2 separate regions of the Homo sapiens genome follow, and region 1 is linked to region 2. Evidence: promoter capture Hi-C in 16 types of primary human blood cells and fetal thymus (Javierre and others, 2016). All regions are on one chromosome and are shown on one strand. The core of a region is centred on a gene start or on the middle of the fragment in contact, and the rest is flanking DNA. Distances in the headings are between cores, read along the strand shown.

What was found. The method cuts DNA at HindIII sites, captures the fragments that hold promoters and counts their contacts. A CHiCAGO score of 5 or more calls a contact.
Region 1: a contact is called between a fragment that was not itself captured here and the fragment with the promoter of FBXO42 in region 2, in 1 of 17 cell types (endothelial precursors). The highest score is 6.0, in endothelial precursors.

The regions. Positions count from the first base shown.
Region 1 is chr1:16,125,466-16,128,981 of GRCh38, reverse strand. All of the region lies in intron 16 of EPHA2 (EPH receptor A2), which reads left to right. Among named protein-coding and RNA genes, the nearest start is that of EPHA2-AS1, 28 kb to the left of the region's middle. The HindIII fragment of the contact is 2,390 bases long and covers 1,072-3,461 here.
Region 2 is chr1:16,350,569-16,353,953 of GRCh38, reverse strand. FBXO42 (F-box protein 42) reads left to right here and starts at 1,474. Exons shown (of 10, transcript NM_018994.3): 1 at 1,474-1,699. RefSeq lists an enhancer at 1,435-2,209. The HindIII fragment of the contact is 4,914 bases long and covers 1-3,113 here.

The DNA.
Region 1 (3,516 bases), core at 1,017-3,516, 230 kb after region 2:
AGCGCAGGGATCGGAGAGGTCATTGGTAGAGAAACAGGCTGAGATGTTACCGGCTTGCCTGAGGTCACACAGCCAGTTTGGGGCAGTCTTCTCCAAGATGCCCTGACTGCTGCCCAGGAGAGAGAACCCCTGGCCTACCCCGGGCACCTCTCTCCACTTGGTTGGCTCTCAGCCTGCAGTCCCACCTGGTGAGAAGTGCCACTTACTCTCTGCTGGCCCTGGGTTTGCCCCTTTGTCAAGCTGCCCCTTGGCAGCTCTTCTCCCCTTCCCAACTCCAGCATTGAGACTTTTCCCGGCATGGCCTTGGCACAGACACCTCCTCCTGTCCCAGGAAGGGGGAGACCCTATCCTCTTAGCCTTTTGTGCCTCTAAAAATAGTGGCCAGTTTCAACAACCCAGCTTGTGCATGGTCAAAGATCATGGCGGGAACAGACCGGGAGGCTGGGAGGTTTTGGGAACCGTATGGAGGGGATGACCTGGGCCTCCCATGGTTCTAGGTCACAGAAGTTCTGGGATTTGAGCCTGTTCATGAACATTCTCTAGGGCCTTTGGAAATTGCTCAGCTGGGCTCCCAACCTGCTGGCCAAGGCCATAGCCTCCCTCAGGGGACAGTCGGTGATGGGAAGCAGGCAGGAACAGAGCCGACCAGAGGGGAGGCGGGGACACGTAGGGAGGGGAGATGGATCACAGGATGTCTTTTGCTGCCCGCCAGCCCAGCAGGGCCACAGGCTTGGGCTCTGCACACATACCTGGGTTCAAGTCCCGCATCTGCCACTTCCTAGCGGGTGACCTTGATCAAGTTTGATGGGATTGCATGGGTGCAGCGCAGATGACACGACTGGTATACAGTGGGTGCTAAATCCTCATTGCTCTCCTCTTTTCCTCCACTCCCTTGCTTTCCTCCCCTAGCACTGTGCAAATGCCCCCTCCTTTTCTCCTTTTTCCTGGGAACATCCACCAGACCCTTTGCTCCTCCAGGGGCTCCCACCAAGGACAACACAGCCTCTCTTCTGGGGACCAGAGCTGAGGGCACGGAGAAGTGCTTATGGGAAACACATGTTCTTAGAAGCTTCCCTAAATAGCCCAGGGTGCTCCTCGCCAATTCCTTTCCCACGAGCAGGGACGGGGCAGTCTTGGATGGATGGAGGCTGTGTGTGTGTGCGCTGCAGTGCGCGTTGTTGTGAAAGGGCCTGGATAAAGGCAGGAAGTCATTCGGCGCCCCCCACCACCCACCACCCGCTCCTCCCACCAGCCACTGGTGCTCAGAGCTGGGGCCTGCATGCCTCCTCCTTCCCCTCTGCCTCTTTCCAAATAAATGGGGATCTCAAAGGACTTTTTAAAACCTGAAGCCTGGGTCTACACACGCCATGGGTCCCAACGGGAGACTTGGAGCTGGTAGCAGGGGAATGCGTGCCTTTCCCAATGGGATCAGGATTTAGGCTTCAGTGTCCCACCTCCTCCCCTTCTCAGCCTCCTGCCTTCTTGACTCCCTCCCAGGGGACCAGCTGCCTGGTCCCCTGGGGTCCCACAGCCACTGTCTCTTCTCCATTTGTGCTATTTTGGAGTCAGTTGGGTTTCTAGCTAGACTAGTGGTCCCAGATGTTTTGTGAGCAGCTGACGAAAGGCGTGGATGTTGCACCCCAGAAAAATAGCCCAACCCCAGGCTCTGTCTAGAGCTGGGACTACAGCATTTGCATCCTGTGTGGGGGTCGAGGGCACAGGCTGTAGATCTTAGGGTCTCCAGTGCCCTTGGCATAGGCTTGGCACTGAAGGAATGCTTGCTGAATGAATGAATGATCTGACACGTGAGGCTCCAGGAGCCATTTCTTACTCCCGTCTCCCTGCACCCAGGGCCAGAACACAGTAGGAGCTCACCGAGTATATGGCCTTGGAGTTTTCTACGCAGGGCCTCCAAAGCAAACTGTGCTCCCATCCTGTGAGATTAACCACTACCATTTGCAAGAGGGACCAGAGGTGGCCCAGCAACGGCCCAACCTCCGCTAAAGCATTCATTCGCTCATGCATTCATGCAGCAGACACTTCCTAGGGACCTACTATGTGCCAGGCCTATCCTGGACCCTGGGCAGGGGTGGGGGCGGGAGCAGGTGCTGTGGGGGTGATGGGCCCAGATGACAAGGTCTCAGCACTTGTCCTCCTGGAGCTTACAACCCACTGGTTTTTAAACCGGATGTCAGGTTTCTTCTGGGATTCAACCAAATGCAGACTCCTTGCCCCACCTGCGGAACTGCAAATCGAGTGAATCTGGGGTCAGGCCGGGGGTCCTGTCTCCTTCACCGTGGTCTGAGCGCTTTTCCAGGGACCACAATTTGAGACCTTCAAGTGTGTGGGAAACTGCTGCTTTTTCAGCACCTCCAACTGTATAGGTTAGAAACGTCCTGTGCAGGTAGCGTAGGAAGTTCTCCCAAATGTCCCAAATGTCTCGGCCTTCCTGCTGCTGTGGGAGCACCAGCCTCTGCGGGAGGTCCTGGAGTCCCCCCAACTCACCTGGGTCTGCCCTTCCCTGCTCTGCGCCTGTGCCGGGGCTCCCGGAGCCTGTGGGAAAGTCATGTCTGCAGAACTGCAACTAGGATCTTGCATCATATAATTAGCTCCCTTTACAGCCAAAAGTCGGCCCATAAAAACTTGGGTGTTTTCATGGGTTTGGGCTAGTGGGTGAGGACGGTGGAGGAGAAAACTCCCAAAGTGAGTAATAAATGCCCTCCTCACAGGTTCCTGGGAGCATAAGTGATTTCATGAGGGGACGGAGGGGCATGGAAGGGGGCCCCAGGAGAGCGTGTACCCTGTGGGGGTGGGAAAGCAGGGCTGTGGGCTCCTGGGCACATCTGTCCATCTGGTACTGATGCTGCCTTCCCCCTCGGCTGCTGGTTTTGAGGTCTCTCGCCCTCCAGATGGACAGTAGCTCCCATTTTACACGGGAGGAAACTGAGGTTTCCCCAAGGGAAGACATCTTCCTAGTCACTGGATCTGGTGACCCGCAAGCCTCACCCATGAAGACTCGCAAAGTTTAACCCTTCAAGTATTTCCCAAGTCCTTCCTTCATGATCAGCAGTGGGAACTTGGAAGGAGTGAGGGAGAAATGAGGCAGCAGGTGGGAAGAGACCTTGGGCAGAGAGGCTTTGAGCGACATCCCTAGAGAGTTCCTGGGAAGGAGGCCTGAGCTGGGGGCACTGGGAACAGACTAGGGGTGAGGGGAGGGAAGGCATTTGTTCATAGCTGGTTTGATTCCCAGCTCTTCCACCTCCTAGCTGTGTGACTTCAGGCAAGTCACTTTACCTCTCTGACCTCAGTTCTCTAATCTGCAAAATGGGGATGAAAAAGAGCACCTGCCTCACAGATAATTCAGAAGATTTGATTTATTTTTATTTTTTTAAAGCATCGTACAGAGTTGAGGCTTCTGTCGTTTTCCTAACTTTGTTGATGGTGGGCCACCTTGGCAAGCTTCTAGGCTGTGGCTCCTTCTCCCAGGCCTACCTAACCAGAGCTCTCTTGCCCTAC
Region 2 (3,385 bases), core at 225-2,724:
TTGGTTCGGTGCAGAAAGACCGGAAACTTGAAGTGGGGGCTTCCACATTATAGGCAGATTTAAACATTTTCTGATTGGCAATGAGTTGAAATAGTTATTATCAATAGGCCTGGTGCGGTGGCACACGCCTGTAATCCAAGCATTTTGGGAGGCCGAGGCAAGTGGATTACTTGAGCTCAGGAGTTTGAGATGAGAGTGGACAACATGGCGAAACCCTGTGTCTACAAAAAAAATGGAAAAATTAGCCAGGCATGGTGGTGCCCGCCTGTAGTCCCAGTTACTCAGGAGGCTAAGGTAGGAGGATAGCTTGAGCCTGAAAGACAGAGGTTGCAGCGAACCAAGAACTCATCACTGGACTCCAGCCTGGGCAACAGAGTTAGACCCTGTCTCAAAAAAAAAAAAGTTATTATCAATAGAAATGAATGTCTGGGTTATGATAAGGGATTGTGGACACCAAAGTTTTATCACGCACGTGAAGCCTCCAAGTGGCAGGTGGGCTCCAGAGAGAACAGATTGTAAATGTTTCTTACCAGTCTTAAGGTCTGTTGTGTTGATGTCAATGCTGAAGGATGTAATGAGGCATGTCTCATGTCCTGCTTCCCGTCATGGCCTGAACCAGTCTCTCAGGTTGGTTACATTTTAGACTGCCCTGGCCTAGGAGGAAGTCCGTTCAGATGGTTTGGTGTTGGGGGGGGGGTGGGGGCTTAGTTTTTTGTTTTGTTTTGTTTTGTTTTTTTGGCTTACAGAGTTTAGACTGAAGCCTTTGACTCTGTATCTGGCATTTCCTTAGACCACATGCTGTAGGGCTGGGCTCATGAAGGTTCTCACCTACACACCAGGTTGCTCCCTTGAGAAGGGGGACTTTGCTGGATCCTATAACCTAGCTAGTAGGAAGTAAAGGAGCTTGGGAACCAGACAAGCCTGAGTTTAAATCCTCTTTCCCGCGCCGCCCCACCTCCACTGATAGGTGTGTGACTCCGGGCAAATAAGTGATCGTTTTCTGTGCCTCAGTTTCCTCATCTGAAAAGTGGAGCTAGTAAGAACTCACAGTGGTTGCTACGAGGCTACGGTTAAGGGAAGACTTCTCCTGCACACCTCAAGCACAGTTTCCCTCCCCTTGGCGATATCCAAGAGCACTCACATCCGCCACAGCCCTCTCTGCTCATCGGGCCCTCGGGGTAGAAGTGAGTTAATTCCTGGCTAAATGTTAGTCTCAAACCACCGGGAAAACCACCCAGTTGCCCCAGACAGTGCAGCGGAGGGTGGGTGCGGCTATCAGGTCGACGCTAGAGACGCGGCGAAGGCGGGTGCGGAGGCCTAGCTCCCCCGAGCGCATTCCACCCTCCACAGAACCTCGGCCTGTGACCACGGCCTTTCTCAACACTGCGCCGCCCCCTGGCCGCCCCTCGCCATCCCGCCGCGCTGACGTGAGTGCGCGCGCGTCCGCCGCGCCCGCCCCGGCGCATGCGCGCTCTGCGCTGTCTTCTCCCGGCCTGAGCAGCAGCAGCTGCGGCGGCGGCGGCGTTTGAGTGGAGGAAGATGGCGGCTCCGGGCGGCTCGGGGTCCCGCCAGCTGTGAGGAGCCCCGAGCACGGCTGTCGCGGCCTGAGGCAGAGCGCCTCTGCTCTGGCCCTGTCCCTGGCTCCCTCATTACCGTCGCCAGCGGAGCGAACCCGAGAGCGTGGAGCGGGCTGGGCCAGGTGAGGCCTCTCCTCCTCCCCGGGCCGCAGAGGGGAGCCGGCGCCTTCTGCCCTTTATGCCCGGGACTGGCAAGGGGCAGCGGGCGCCCGGGGTCTGACGCAGGCCCCGTATCCCACGCGGGGGTCGGTCCTGGTTGGGCAGGGTGACTTGCTATCGCCGTCCTCGAGTGAGGCGAGGAGGAGGACAGCTCCTTTCCAGCCAGCCCTTGGGTTGGGAGCGAACCCACCCCCTCTCCTCAGCAGGGTGGTTCTCGTCCCCTCACCCGGGCAGTGAAGGGGTGTGTGGCCCGGGCAAGGATGGCTTTAGGGTGTCAGGTAATCTTTCATCGCTCCTCCGAACATTTCACTCCTTTGCGAGAGAGGAGTCGGGGGTCGGGTGCCCATCAAAATTGGGGCTGCGGCTGGGGGCTAGCATCTCTGAACCTGCAGCTGCAAAGGGATAATTTTGGAATTGGTTTACGTTAAATAAAACACAAAAGGCCTTTCCTATCCCCTAGCTTGTTGAGTGTTCCCTTAGAGAAATGGGAACTGCGGATCTCCTTGCTTGAGACAGCAATCCATGCTGTGACTGTGGAAGGCTTCTCTTGGCGAGAATTGTGTGTGCAAAGGGAACGGTGGAGGGTGGGAACGAATTTGTAAGCGAAGAGAAAACGATTGTGAGATCTTGATGGTCGCTGCAGAGTAACTTCAGCGCTGAGTTCGTTTGAAACCTTCGGTTTGTTAAGATTCAGAATAACCAATTGCTTTGTCTGTTAAATCTCCCGATTTCTGTTAGGAAAATAAAAGCCTCATTTCTTAATTGCCAGAGTCTGGATTTTTCTGTGGTGGGATTCTGATCGATCTAGATGAAGATTCTGACACATTACCAGTTTTACTTGCTGGCAGTTGCTGGCCCCGACGTTGAAACTATGTTGTTCCTTTTTGAGAACAACTTTTATTGCTGTTTAAATGCTAATTGGGAGACTTCGATTGTGTTTCTGTCATGTAGGGAAGTCGGTTTGAAGCCTTGTGGTCTCTTTCTTGAGGAATGATGGCTTCACTGAACTTGTGCTATGCAGAATTGTTGAGGCGATTGCTTTTGCTTGGACACACCAAAATATCTTTTGTAACAAATTGGCTTTACTTCTGCTTAAGAATGATGACATCATGGATTTAAAGAGGCAAGGAAAATTTGGGGGAAGTACCATCATTTAGAATTGAATATTTAGAATTAAGTCTGTATATCTTATGGCCATTAGTGATGCTGTGTTAAATTGCTAACTTTGAGTGTATTCACGTGTGTAATCTGATTGGGTGTCTTTTCTATTGTATGTTGTCATTTTATACCCAGTAACTGTTTGCTTTTGACAAGCCAGTATAAATAGATGATTCAATCTACATTGATCCATAGGCATGTTGCGTATCTTAAAAAGCTTTTCATTGTTAAAATGACAACTGTTTAGGTTATTATTTGACCATTTTCTTTCTTTCTTTCTTTCTTTCTTTCTTTCTTTCTTTTTTTTTTTTTTTTTGCAGTTTCTCACTCTGTCATCCAGGCTGGAGTGCAGTAGCACAGTCTCGGCTCTCTGCAATCTCCATCCCCTGGGTTTAAGCGATTCTCCTGCCTCAGCTTCCTGAGTAGCTGGGATTACAGGTGTGCGCCACCACGCCCGCTAATTTTTTTTTTTTTTTTTTTTTTTTTGTAAT